Regions from separate parts of the Homo sapiens genome. Here region 2 is linked to region 1. The links are contacts of gene promoters, found by promoter capture Hi-C in blood cells and fetal thymus (Javierre and others, 2016). All regions are on one chromosome and are shown on one strand. The core of a region is centred on a gene start or on the middle of the fragment in contact, and the rest is flanking DNA. Distances in the headings are between cores, read along the strand shown. Region 1 holds the start of SLC25A2 (solute carrier family 25 member 2). Region 2 overlaps PCDHA1 (protocadherin alpha 1).

Region 1 (6,831 bases), core at 1,802-4,301:
AGTTCAATAAAATTACTTTTCTTCTGTTTCATTCCTTAGTCACACCCCATACGTAGTTATCATTAAAATTTACTGATGAACAGTACCAAATTTAGAAGACTCTAGCACTGTAAAGGCATGGGAAGGTATTATGGACCCCAAGGTAAACTTCAAGAAAGGGTTGTCCCTAACATGACTCATTGTGGAGCAAAAGCACTAAGTTCTGTCTAGTTCTATCTGAGAGTAGATGACTTTTACCCACAAGTATTATTAGCAAATAGGGAACAAAAGCTTCTCTTAGCTTTGTCACTTTCTGTTCCCCAGGAAGGTTTCTGGCTGATGGAGGCAGAAAGGACAGTGAGTGACCCAAAATGAATCAACAACCTCTAAATGGGCCGATAGAACACCCTTGAGTCCTACCCAGGCCAGGACCCAGAGACTGGAAGCTAAGAACTGTTATCAGCCACATGGGTCTTCATCAAAGCAGAGGTGCACAGCTCCTTCCTCGAACTAAAGCCCAGCTCGTTTGAGGGGGAGAACGGAAGCTGGCGCAGGAAGGCTGTGTGGATTCCCCAAGGCCTGATGATACTCTAGATCATCCCTAACCATATAGGCAGAGTGCAGAATATAATCCCACTTTGAAAATGGATAACACTATATTAAGGGTATTGTTTCTTGGGAAAATCCACAATGCTTACTCTGAAACTTTTAACTCAAGAATGTCAAAGCCACACTGGTATGCAGGTACCTTCTCCTCTTAAAAATATAGATGAGGCCAGGCGCAGCGGCTCACACCTGTGATCCCAGAACTTTGGGAGGCCTAGGCGGGTGGATCACCTGAGGTTAGGAGTTCATGACGAGCCTGGCCAACATGGCAAAGCCCCATCTCTACTAAAAACACAAAAGTTAGCCGGGTGTGGTGGCGTGCACCTGTAGTCCCAGCTACTTGGGAGGCTGAGGTAGAAGAATCACTTGAACCCAGGAGGCGGAGGTTGCAGTGAGCCAAGATCGTGCCACTGCACTCCAGCCTGGGCAACAAGAGTGAGACTGCATCTCAAAAAAAAAAAGTATATATATATATATACTTTTTCTCATATATATATATATATGAGAGAGAGAGAGAGAGAGGAGTATTTTGGTATCAAGCACCACATGAAGATGTTTCAAAACTTGAACCGCCTAATGTAGTGCGCATGTTAAGCAGACTTTAAAAGAGATCCTGGCCGGGTGCGGTGTCTCATGCCTATAATCCCATCACTTTGGGAGGCTGAGCTGGGTGGATCACCTGAGGTCAGGAGTTCGAGACCAGCCTGGCTAACATGGTGAAACCCCATCCCTACTAAAAATACAAAAATTAGCTGGGCATGGTGGCGGGCACCTGTAATCCCAGCAACTCGGGAGGCTGAGGCAGGAGAATCGCTTGAACCAGGCAGGCAGAGGTTGCAGTGAGCCAAGATCATGCCACAGCACTCCAGCCTGGGCGACAGAGTGAGACTCTGTCTCCAAAAAAAAAGAAAAAAAGAGAGAGTGATCCTAAGTAATCATTCATACCTATCTTCACAAAATATGGTCAATTCTGGGTTTGGGGGGCTGATATTTGAGATTATATATAGAACTAAATTGTTTCACTCACGACATAGAATCATCCAAACTGCATGTACACACAAATGGCTTTATGCAAAGGCCCTGACAGAACGATATTTAGTTTTTCAGATTAGGTACATAGGGCCAACCAGCCCACCCTGTACATTCCAGCAAGTGCAAGAGCAGCAACTTTCCTATTTCAATACAATTATGGGCAGAAATTATATGATGTAAAATAGAGGCCCTTCCATAAAGTTAAGATTTAGGGTAGAAGAAGGGAAGATAAAACCAAAATTCCCATGAAGTCAAAATTAGACAGTGGTCTTGTACTCTGCTGAACCCTGTGATGAACTGTAGTCCTCAAACTCATGGACTCGGATCCAGGTTCACCAAGACACTTCAGTATGCTTCCAACTGTTTCATCATCATCTTCCTGCTGTATTCGTAGGCCACAAACAGTGCCCCATTGGCAGGGATTGCTCGAATCATAGTAGCTTTCAGTCCAGAATATAAGGCTACTATTCCTTCATTTCTCACAACACTTAAGAGGGTACCAATAAATCCTGCCTGTTTCCCATACATGGAAAGAACTTGAATTCTGGATTTAATACAATCCACTGGGAACACGACAAGCCACAGGCAAATTCCAGCAACTCCACCACTTAACATCAAATGGACAGGGCCTAGTTCATCTTTTGATCTCCCTGACGCAAAAAACGATCGGCTCAGTTCATAGCCACCAAAGAAAAAGAAATAACCCGGTACTTCTTGAAGTAGAGTACTCGAGAGTCCATGGTAGAAGCCCAAGGGGCCATCCTTTTTAAGGATACCCTTCACGACAGACCAAATTGTATTATGGCTTTTTGCTATCTTCCCTGACATCTCCATTTCATACATGGTCTGTAGCCGGCACTTCACAAGCTCAGTGGGGCAGAGAGCCAGTGCAGCAAATGCAGAGGCGAAGGACCCCGCGGCTGCAGTCTGGAGATCACTCAGCTTTGCCTGCTTGTCCATTCCAGCCACTTTCCTGACAAACTGCTGGCAGAACCCGTAGCACATGAAGAGGACCGAGTTTTCGGCGACGTAGGCCATAAGTGCCGGGCCGGTGCCCTTGTAGAAGCCCCGGAGACCCACTTGAGCGTATGTCTTCAGGAAGCAGTCGGTGAGGCCCTTGTACAGGTCAGGGAACGTCTGCATCTTCACTTTTATTGTGTCGAAGGGCTGCCCAGTCAGTACACACGCTGTCCCCCCTGCGGCCCCCGCTGTGAGGTCGATGGCGGCTTGGATGCCAGGACCGGACTTCATGTTCGCTCACTCGTCTGAGGGTCCCAGTGGAAGGCGACTAACTCCCCAGAGCGTGAGACCGGCTTTTCACGTCCAGCCGCAGCGAGCGCGGGGAATGGAGTTGGGGGTGGTGGGGTGGCTCTACCGCCTGTTCTGGGCTCTCACCCCAGTGCGGGGGAAGCCGCTCAACCCTACGCTCCGCCGCGGGCCGCCCCCTCCCCGCGCACTAAAATAACCCCCAGCTGCCGGCCCAGCGCGCGGCTCACTAGCGTTCCTGCGGCTCCTGGCGCACTGGCCGGGCCCCCAGCCGCCTCCAGCCTGGAGCCGCCATCCCTGCACCCGCAGGCGGGGGACGCGGACCGAATAAATACTTTTAGTGTACTGCGACTGGGCGCGGTGGCTCACTCCTGTATCCCAGCACTTTGGGAGGCCGAGGCGGGAGGATCGCTTGAGCCCAGGAGATCGAGACCAGCCTGGGCAATATGGCAAGACTCCATTTCTACAAAAACGAAAAAATACCCGGGCGCGATGGCGCGCGCCTGTGGTCCCAGCAATTCAGGAGAATGAAGCGAGGATCGCTTGAACCCGGGAGGTCGATGCTGCAGTGAGCTATGATCGCACACTGCACTCCAGGGTGGGCGAAAGGGTGAGGCTCTGTCTCAAAACAAAACCAAAACCAAGAAAACATGTAAAGCTTTTCGATAAATTCTTGCAATTATGGCCGGGAACTCTAGACGCCGCAGTTCAGCTGGCGGCAAAAGAAATGCTGTCCTAATCAGTCAGCCCTGCTTCTTTTCTTTTCTCTCTTTTTTTTTTTTTTGACTTAGGGTCTCACTCGGCCGCCTAAGCTGGAGTTCAGTGGCGCGATCCTGGCTCACTGCAGCCCCAATCTCCTGGCCTCAGGCGATCCTCTCACCTCAGCCTCCTGAGTAGCTGAGACTAGAGGGACTACAGGCGCAAGCCACCACATCTGGCTAAATTTTGTATTGTACAGACGGGGTTTCGCCATGTTGCCCAGGCTAGTCTCGAACTCCTGAACTCAAGCAATCCACCCACTGGCCTCCCAAAGTGTTGGGGCTTACAAGCATGAACCACCACACCCGGCCTATCCCACGCTTCTTACCATGCAAAAAACAAAAACAAACAACCCGAAAAGAAGATGCCCTCACTTGAATAGACCCTGAATTCAGAGGGTCAATCTACAAGAAAACTGCTTTAAAGTAGATAAGACAGGCCAGGTGTGGTGGCTCATGCCTGTAATCCCAACACTTGGAGAGGCTGCGGAGGGAGGCTCATTTGAGCCTAGGAGTTCAAGGCTAGCTTGGGCAGCAAAATGAGACACCCCTTACCCCCTACAAAAAATAAAGTAGAGAAGACAAACTGTCAGAGGCGCTGGAACCACAGCAACTCCATCTTGACTAGGGACTGAGTAAAATAAGGCCGAGACCTACTGGACTGCATTCCCAGGAAGACAGGCATTCTAAGTCACAGGATGAGATAGGAGGCCGGCACAAGATACGGGTCACAAAGACCTTGCTGATAAAACAGGTTTCAGTAAAGAAGCCAGCCAAATCCCACCAGAATCAAGATGGCATAATAAGTGACCTCTGGTCGTCCTTACTGCTCATTATACGCCAATTATAATGCATTAGCATGCTAAAAGACACGCCCACCAGCGCCGTGTCCACTTACAGATGCCATGGCAACAATAAGAAGTGACCCTATGTGGTCTAAAAAGGGGGAGGAATCCTCAGTTCCGGTAACTTTGGACCCCTTTCCCAGAAACCTCATGAATAATCCACCCCTTGTTTAGCTTACATTCAATAAAAAACTGTAAGTATCCTTAGTCAAGCCGCCCAGGCCACTGCTGTGCCTATGGAGTAGCCATTCTTTTGCTTCTTTACTTCTCTAATAAACTTGCTTTCACTTGACTCTATGAACTTGCCCCAAATTATTTCTTGCATGAGATCCAAGAACAATCTCTTGGGTCTGGATCGGGACCCCTGTCCGGTAACGAAACGATCTGAGGGTTGCTACATGAGAGACAGTGACTGCTTTTGATCAGAAAACCCTCAGCGATCTGCCCACGCTCCTCACTTTCCTGGGGGGCAAGGAGGGGAGTAGGGCACTGTGGGAATCCTTAGCCCTGGAGATGTGCTACTGCTTTCCTGCAGAGCTGGAGAAATGCTATCACATGGCAACATCCCCAAGGATCTGGGGTTGCAGCCCTGGGAACTGGTGGAACGTGGAGTCCTTATCATTTCTGAAGATAGAACACGGCACTATAAAATCAACTTGGAAAATGGATAGTATTTATATACTGCATTGCTAAGAAACTTGATAGAAAAGAGCTGGGTGGCTCAGCACTATGCTTTCTAAGTTTTGAGATTCTCTTTGAGGACCCACACAGCCTCATGCAGAAGTAGAAATTTGTCGTTTGTACACTGTTGGTGGGAATGTAAAATAGTTCAACCCCTATGGAAAGCAGTATGGAGATTTCTCAAAGAACTAAAAATAGAACACCCATTCAACCCAGCAATCCCACTATTAGGTATCTACCCAAAGGAAAAGAAATCATTTTATCAAAAAGACACCTGTGCTGGGGACAGTGACTTACACCTGTAATCCCAGAATTTTGGGAGCCCAAGCCAGGTAGATCGCTTGAGCCCAGGAGCTCCAGACCAGCCTGGACAACATGGCAAAATGCCATCTCTACAAAAAAATACAAAAAGTAGCCATGCATGATGGCATGCCCCTGTAGTGGCAGCTACACAGGAGGCGGAGATGGGAGGATTGACTGAGCTGAGTTGGAGGCTGCAGTGAGTTATGATCCAGCCTGGGTGGCAAAACAAGACCCTGTCTCCAAAAAAAAAACCAGAAAACATCTACACTCATATGTTTATGGAAGCACTATTCACAACAGGAAAGTCACAGAATCAATGTAAGTGTTCATCAATAGTTGATTGGATAAAGAAAATGTGGTATATGTATACCACGGAATACTATGCAGCCATAAAAAAGAATGAAATTATGTCCCTCACAACATGGATGGAGCTGGGGGCTGTTATTCTAGGTGAAATATCTTAGAACCAGAAAATCAAATACTGCATGTTCTCACTTATATAAGTGGGAGCTAAACAATGGGTACACAAAGACATAAAGATGGGAATAACAGACACTGGGGAATCCAAAAGTGGGGAGGGTGGGAGGGATTGAGGGTTGAAAACCTACCTGTTGGGTACTACATTCACTATGTGGGTGACGGGTTCACTAGAAGCCCAAACCTCAGCGTTACACAACATACCCATGTAACACACCTGCACATGTACTCCTTGAATCTAAAATGAAATTCAATTTAAAAAGAAGTAGAAGTTCGGGATACAAATGACATGTCTAGCTTTCAAAGCAAGATGTTTTTTGGACATTAGTGAGGATACCACTGTCAGGACACACTTCTTCCTCCCAGATATTTATAATCCCAGCATTGGAATGAATTCTCTCCAGGCTTACATTCCAAGCCGTCGTCGGCCATGGGTAGTAAAAACAAAATCTGGGGGGAAGAAAGTATGCTGAAAGCATTCTCTTTCATTTAGAAAACTTTCCTTGTCTAATTATCCTTGGCTGTCAATTAAAAGTGAGGTACTTCAGAACAAAGGTCTCTGAGAAAATTTAAAAAAAAATTTTTTAATGAGGTACTAAAAAGCAAATTGTGCATGGATAATTTGTCACCAGGTAGTCTTCACTGTAGTAAATAGTAATCTGGGCTTTTCTTTGGGAAATGCCCAAATGTCAGCAGTTGCAGTTCTTTTCTCTGGTACCACATAGTTTCCTCAGAGAATGCTCTATGAGCTTTGACTGTGTGTGTGCAGGGTGTGGTGGGGGAGAGGTAGGTTATAAACCTAGATACTGATTTAAAGAGAACAAGAGAGGGGAAGAGGGATGACACACCTGGAGTAAATATACAGACTTTCACATAATTTTTTC
Region 2 (7,248 bases), core at 1,575-4,074, 410 kb before region 1:
AGCATTTACCAGTACACTACTGCACCTGATTGCAAGCAAGAACCACTCAGTTGAGTCAGAACCAGGAGAGGTAATATTAAGTTGTTTTAAGATATTAGGTAGTTGGGATGGTTTACTATATAGCAATGGATAACCTGAACAAGTACTCTTTCTTAGATAATCTATAAATTTTAACTTGAATATTTATTTAGTTTATATTTACAATACCTAGTGATATCTTTAGGCACAAATATTTCAATTTTTTGTGCGTTATTTTTGTCTCACCATTTTTATGTCTCTATTTCCTTCCTTTGTTGATCTTCTTTTGAAATGACTGAGTACTTTTTATTGTTCCATTTCCTTCTGTATTATTTGGAAGCCCTTTTCCGAATAGCTAGTGCTTACCCTAGAAAATTAAGCATGTATCCTTGATATATCAAAATCAAAAGTTAACTGAAACCCTTCCTCCTTCTGGGAAATGCAGGGACCTTACATTTTTAAAATCTTTTTAATCCCTTTTGACTTATATACTATTTCTGTCATGCTTTAAAAATATTTTAAAACCCCATAAGATATTAGTATTATTTTATACAATCAACATTGTTTTAAATGTACTTACATATTTACCAGTTTTGTTTCTCTTCCTTACTTCTTGCCCCTCTGACCTTTCATCAGGGATTATTGTCTTTCCATGTTAGAATAATTTGAGAGTTTCCTTTAGTCCAAAGATGCTGGTGAGGAATGATTTCAGGTTTTGTTTTTCTGAAAATGTCTTTATTTCATCATAATTATTGAAAAGCATTTTTTCTGAGGGTATAATCTTAGGTGTGACCCCCACAGCACATAGTAAATATTATTCCAGTGTCTACTGGTTTCCATTGTTGCTGTCAAGAATTTAGCTGTCAATCTAAATGTCATTCCTTTAAAGGTATTCTGTTTATTTTCCTTTGGCTGCTTTTCAGATTTTCTGTGTGTCTGATATTTTGCAGTTTTACCATGCTGTGTCTTTATAATCATCCTGTTCTGGATTCAGTAGGATTTTTTTTAATTTTTAATTTTTCCGTAAGTTATTGGGGGTACAGGTGGTATTTGATTACATGAGTAAGTTCTTTGGTGGTGATTTGTGAGATTTTGGTGCATCCATCACCTGAGCAGTATACATTGCACCATATTTGCAATCTTTTATCCCTCGCCACCCCCCACTCTTGCCCCCAAGTCCCCAACGTCCATTGTATAGGATTTTTGAATTTGTGAATTAATGCCTTTACATCACTTTGAGCATATCCTCAGCTATAATGTTCTCCAATGTTGCTTCTGTTCCATTGTATTTCTATAGTATTATTTTAGTACTCTAATTAAACATATTTTAATCTTATTACTCTATCCCATCTATTTCTACCTTTTATTTTAACACCTTTTGCTCTTTGGGCTTTATTGTGGATAGTTCACCCACCTTAAAGTTTAATAATTCTCTCTTCTTGCTGTTGTCTGAATTTGTACCCCCAAATTCATGTGTTGAAAATTCAATCCCTTATACAACAGTGTTGGGAGGTGGGGAATTTCAGGAAATGTTTAGATTATGAGGGATCTGCCCTCATGAATAAATTAACGGCACTGTAAAAGGACTTGATGGAAGGAGCCTGTCCCTCTCTTATGCTTTTGGCTCTGTCATGTGACGATGCAGCAAGAAGATCTTCACCAGATGCTGGTGCCTTGATCTTGGACTTCCCCTAGGCTCCAGAATTGTGAGAAGTAAATTTCCGTTCTCATAAATTACTCAGTCTGTGGCATTCTGTTATAGCAGCACAAATGGTCTAAGATACTTTTATTTATTCTTTTTCAAATTTATTGTTACTTTGTATAATTTCTAGTTTCCTCTCGAAACTTTCAAGCTTGGCATTTATATCTGGAACACAATAAGCTCATGGTTTTAGCGTCTATTTCTGATATGTCCAGTAACTGGGATCCTCATGGGTCTATTCCTGTGGTGTGTTTTAAAATTGTATCTTTATGGTGTTTTGTCTCCACATAAACCTGGTTATCTTTGATTTTGTGCTGAAAGTTGTATTAAACACTTCTTCCTGGAAATAATTTGGGGCTTATAACATTTTCTTTCTCCAGAATGGATTTTAATTGACTTTTGCCAGGCATCTTGGGGCACTAGCAATCATGGGTAATCTTAATCTATTTCAAGCTTCAGGTATTCTAGATAAAACCTCATTATCTAAAATTTACATGTATTCTTTAAGTACGGTTATTCAGTTTCCTAGCCAAACATGAGAGATTGTTTAAGAAGTTCCACCATGACTGGTAGACTCAGGATTCTGACTTTTGTTTCTCTAGTCCTTGGAGACTGTCAAAAGTATATCTCAGTATTCATTCACCTATTTTTTTCCTTTTATTTCCAGTTGGTACATAATAATTGTACATATTTATAGGATACAGAGTGACATTTTGATACATATATACAATGTATAATAATAAAATCAGGGTAATTAGCATATTCATAATCTCAAACATTTACCATTTTTGCATGGTGAACATTTAAAATCCACTCTTCTAGCTTCTTGAAAATATGTAAGAAATTATAGTTAACCATATTTATCCTACAGTGCTACAGTGCTGCAAAACACCACAACCCATTCCTCCTGTGTAGCTATAATTTCGTATCCATTAACCAACCTTTCCCCATCCTCCTTTTCCTTCACCCTTCCCAGCCTCTGATAAGCACAATACTACTTCCATGAGCTCAATAAAATTTTGTAGCTGCCGTATAAGTGAGAACATGTATTTATTTTTCTGTGCCTGACTTATTTCACTTAACATATGCCCTCCAGGCTCAGCCATACTGCCATGAATAACAGGATTTCATTCTTTTTTATGGCTGGATAATATTCCGTTGTGCATATACACCACATTTTCTTTATCCACTCATCTGTTGATGGATATTGAGGTTGATTCCACATAGTAGCTATTGTGAATAGTGCTGCAGTAAGTATGGGAGGTGCAGGTATCACTTTGACATACTGGTTTCCTTTTCTTTGGATAAATGCCCAATAGTGGAATTGCTGGATGATATGGTAGTTCTATTTGTAGTTTTTTGAGGGACTCCCATACTGTTTTCCTTAGTGGCAGTGCTAATTTACATGCCCACCAACAGCATTTATGGGACAGTGGCTCATGCCTGTAATCCCAGCACTTAGGGAGGCAGAGGCAGGAAGATCGCTTGAAGCCAGGAGTTCAAGACCAGCCTGGGCAACATAGCAAGACCCTGTTCTTCACAAAAAAGAAAAAAAAAGCAGTTGTAGAACTCCTTTAAGTATTTCTTGTAGGACTTATCTAGTTGTAGTGTACTTCCTCAGTTTTTGCTTGTTTGGGAAATACTTTATTTCTCCTTCATTTCTGAAGTATAGCTCTGCTTGGTATAGTATTTTTGGCTGATAGTTTTAAAAAATTTCAGCACTTTGGATATATCATCTCATTCTATCCTAGCCTGTAAAGCTTCTGCTGAGAAATCTGCTGTTAGTCTGATGGGAATTTTCTTATAGGTGACTTGTCACTTTTCTTTTACCGTTTTTAGAATTCCCTCCTTGTCTTGAGTCTGGTACCGTAGACTACTCAGCCATCCTGATGCCCTACCTCTTGTATAGAAACAACCCAGATCCAAAGTGGCCAGAAAGTTACTTTACCTTCTGAATTTGTGGTCTTTTTCAGAATCTCTACCTGTTAATTCTGCATGACTTTATTAGTCATTAGATACTTTTATAATTTTAAAATATCTCCAATTGTATGGTTGGTTCAAATTACCAGTTCTGCATACTGGTAATGTAAGTCCTCTGTTGAATTGATTTTTAAATACATTTATTTTATTCCAGTATCTTCTAGCTCCTGGTGTTGCAGATGAGAAGTTTCAAATAACTTGAAATAATTCCCTTCTATGTAATTATCCCTGATTTTGACTTTCTTTCCATAGTTATATATTTTTTCTATGCTATTATATTCTCATTTTAAAGATGTTGAATGACAATGTAATTTTCTTTTCTTTACAAGTGGTAGCTTATTTACAAGTATTTTTGAAGTTTATTTTCCTGGAAAGTTTTCTTAAATTATAGATTTTAGTATTTCTTCTGTTTTATTACTTCAGATTTCTTCTTCAATGGCTCCAATTATATTTGTATTAGATATTCTTTGCTTTTCTTTTGTAGCTAACACTCCTAAATCCTACCTAGCTCTTTTTTAAAAAATATTTTACTTTTTATTCTTGTTTTCATCTTATAGTTTTCTTTAGGCATTATCCATAGTGTTTATATGCTGTTATGTGCCTTCTGGTTTAGTGTTTACTTCTGAAAAAATTATTTTCCTTTTTTTTAATATTTTACTGAGTTTTCTCATCTCTCTTTTCAAAGCTTTTCTTCTCCAATCATATCATTACTGAGTCTCTCTAATTCTGATTTGTGTATTCTTGCATAGCTTTTCATTATTTTCTAAAAATGTTTAAGTTGTTTTCAAATATTACGTAGCAATTTGTGGAATTTTTTTTCTTGTGTGTATTTATTTCCTTTAGTGTAATTATTTGTCCTCTCCTTTAAAAATAATTTTATATCAGATTTGCCCATAATCCTTTTCTTATGCTCATTTTTATATGAAAAGTGCTCCCCCATAATTTTAGAAGAAACAGACCAGGATAATTTTCCTATCTTTGTTGCTCTATAGATTTCTATTCAGCTATTGTCATGAAATGATAAAAATATAATTTTTTAATGTCTTACTTTGTGACATCCTTTACCCTTTTTACTTGGACCTTTTTCCTTTGTTTAATTGTCCCCCACCCACACCATTCTGCTTCATATGGACTCAATTCCTATCAGTTCCTCCTCAGTATAGGGGTTTTTGCTACAAGAAGACATTTGTTAGTTGACAAGTTCATAGGGCTAAGACAGGTTTAGCACAATCCAATCTATTTGTAGTCCCTTCTGCTAAGTTTTGAATTTGCTTTTATTTCTAATATTTTACTGAGTTTTCTCATCTCTCTTTTCAAAGCTTTCTTTTTTTTCTTACTCAGGGATAATTGAATTAGGACCTTCGATTTCCCCCCTTCCACCCATGACTATTGTTCTCAAATTGTTTTACTATGCTTTCCAGTGAGTACTTATTGGCACTTTTTGGAGTTCTTCAATTCTCAACACCATCAAAAGCCCCATAACCTTCTTTTGCTTCCTCCTGAGACTCTTTTCATGTGCTTATTGGTCATTTCTTTATCCTCTTCGGAGAAATACCTATTCAGAACTTTTGCCCAATTTTTAATTGGTTTATTCGTTTTTCAATTGTTGAGTTGTAAGAGTTCTTTATATATTCTAGATGCAATTACTTTATTAGATATATAATTTGCAAAGATTTTCTCATTGAGGGTGTTGTCTTTTCACATTCTTTTTTAGCTCCCACTTATAAGTGAGAACATGTAGTATTTGGTTTTCTGTTTCTATATTAATTCACTTGGGATAATGGCCTGCACCTCCATTCAATGGGCTGCAAAGGGCATGATCTTTTTCTTTCTTTATGGCTGCATAGTATTCAATGACGTATATGTACAATACTGTATTGTATTGTATTGTATTTTTTTCAGACAAAGTCTCACTCTTGTACCCCAGGCTGGAGTGCAATGGCGCGATCTCGGCTCACTGCAACCTCCGCGTCCCGGGCTCAACAATTATCCTGCCTCAGCCTCCCGAGTAGCTGGGATTACAGGTGCCTGTCACCAGGCCTAGCTAATTTTTGTATTTTAAGTAGAGACAGGGTTTCTCCATGTTGGCCAGGCTGGTCTCGAACTCCTGACCTCAGGTGATCCGCCTGCCTCGGCCTCCCAACATGCTGGGATTACAGGCGTGAGCCACTGTGCCTGGCCAATGTACTGCATTTTATTTATCCAGTGCACCATTGATGGGCATTTAGGATTATTCTCTGTCTTTGCTATTGTGAATAGTGCCATGATGAACATACACATACATGTGTCTTTATAGTAGAATGACTTATATTCCTTTGGTTATGTACACAGTTATGGGATTTGCTGGCTTGAATGGTAAGTTCTTTGAGAAATCTTCAAACTGCTTTCCACAGTGGCTAAACTAATTTATATTCCCGCCAGCAGTGTATAAGCATTCCCTTTTCTCTGCAACCTCACCAGCATCTGTTATTTTTGACTTTTTAGTAATAGCCATTCTGACTGGTGTGACTGCAACCTCCACCTCCTGGGTTCAAGCGGTTCTCCTGCCTCAGCCTCCTGAGTAGCTGGGACTGTGCAGGCACACACCACAAAGCCCAGCTATTTTTCTTTTTTTTTTTTGTATTTTAAGTAGAGATGGGGTTTTGACGTGTTGGCCAGGCTGGTCTCGAACTCCTGGTCTTAAGTGATCCACCTGCCTTGGCCTCCCAAAGTGCTAGTATTACAGGCATGAGTCACTGTGCCCGGCCCTTTGCCCATTTTTTGATGAGGTTGTTTGTTTTTTGCTTGTTAATTTGTTTAAGTTCCTTATAGATTCTGGATATTAGACCTTTGTTGGATGCATAGTTTGCTGATATTTTCTCCCATCCTGTAGGTTGTCTGTTTACTCTGTTCATAGTTGTTTTTATTTTTTAATTTTATGGGTACATAATAAGTGTACATATTTATGGGGTATATGAGACATTTTGATACAAGCATGCAATGCACAATAATCACATCATGGAAAATGGAATGGCCATTCCCTTAAACATTTATTCTTTGCACAAACAAACCAGTTATGCTCTTTTAGTTATTTTTAAATATACAACTAAATTATTTAGACCATAGTCACCCTATTCTGCTGTCAAATACTATGTCTTATTCATTTTTTCTATTTTTTATCCTCATTAAAAATCTCCACTTTCTGTCCACACCCCACTAAACTTTCTAGCCTTTGTTAACCATTCTTCTACTGTCTATCTCCATGGGTTCAAAAAATATATTTTTTTATTATACTTTAAGTTTTAGGGTACATGTGCACAATGTGCAGGTTAGTTACATATGTATACATGTGCCATGCTGGTGTGCTGCACCCATTAACTCGTCATTTAGCATTAGGTATATCTCCTAAAGCTATCCCTCCCCCCTCCCCCCACCCCACAACTGTCCCCAGAGTGTGATGTTCCCTTCCCCTTCCTGTGTCCATGTGTTCTCATTGTTCAATTCCCATCTATGAGTGAGAACATGCAGTGTTTGGTTTTTTGTCCTTGCGATAGTTTACTGAGAATGAT

Evidence for each region. Contacts are between HindIII fragments. The CHiCAGO score rates a contact against its expected background, and 5 or more counts as called.
Region 2: a contact is called between a fragment that was not itself captured here and the fragment with the promoter of SLC25A2 in region 1, in 1 of 17 cell types (M1 macrophages). The highest score is 7.3, in M1 macrophages.

What each region holds. Positions count from the first base shown.
Region 1 is chr5:141,300,998-141,307,828 of GRCh38, forward strand. SLC25A2 (solute carrier family 25 member 2) reads right to left here and starts at 3,052. Exons shown (of 1, transcript NM_031947.4): 1 at 1,638-3,052. The coding sequence starts at 2,868. The coding sequence ends at 1,963. The HindIII fragment of the contact is 3,271 bases long and covers 269-3,539 here.
Region 2 is chr5:140,890,230-140,897,477 of GRCh38, forward strand. The region is part of intron 1 of PCDHA1 (protocadherin alpha 1); the gene reads left to right. The region is part of intron 1 of PCDHA2 (protocadherin alpha 2); the gene reads left to right. The region is part of intron 1 of PCDHA3 (protocadherin alpha 3); the gene reads left to right. The region is part of intron 1 of PCDHA4 (protocadherin alpha 4); the gene reads left to right. It also overlaps PCDHA5, PCDHA6, PCDHA7, PCDHA8, PCDHA9 and PCDHA10, and 4 more genes. Among named protein-coding and RNA genes, the nearest start is that of PCDHA13, 12 kb to the left of the region's middle. The HindIII fragment of the contact is 1,307 bases long and covers 2,172-3,478 here.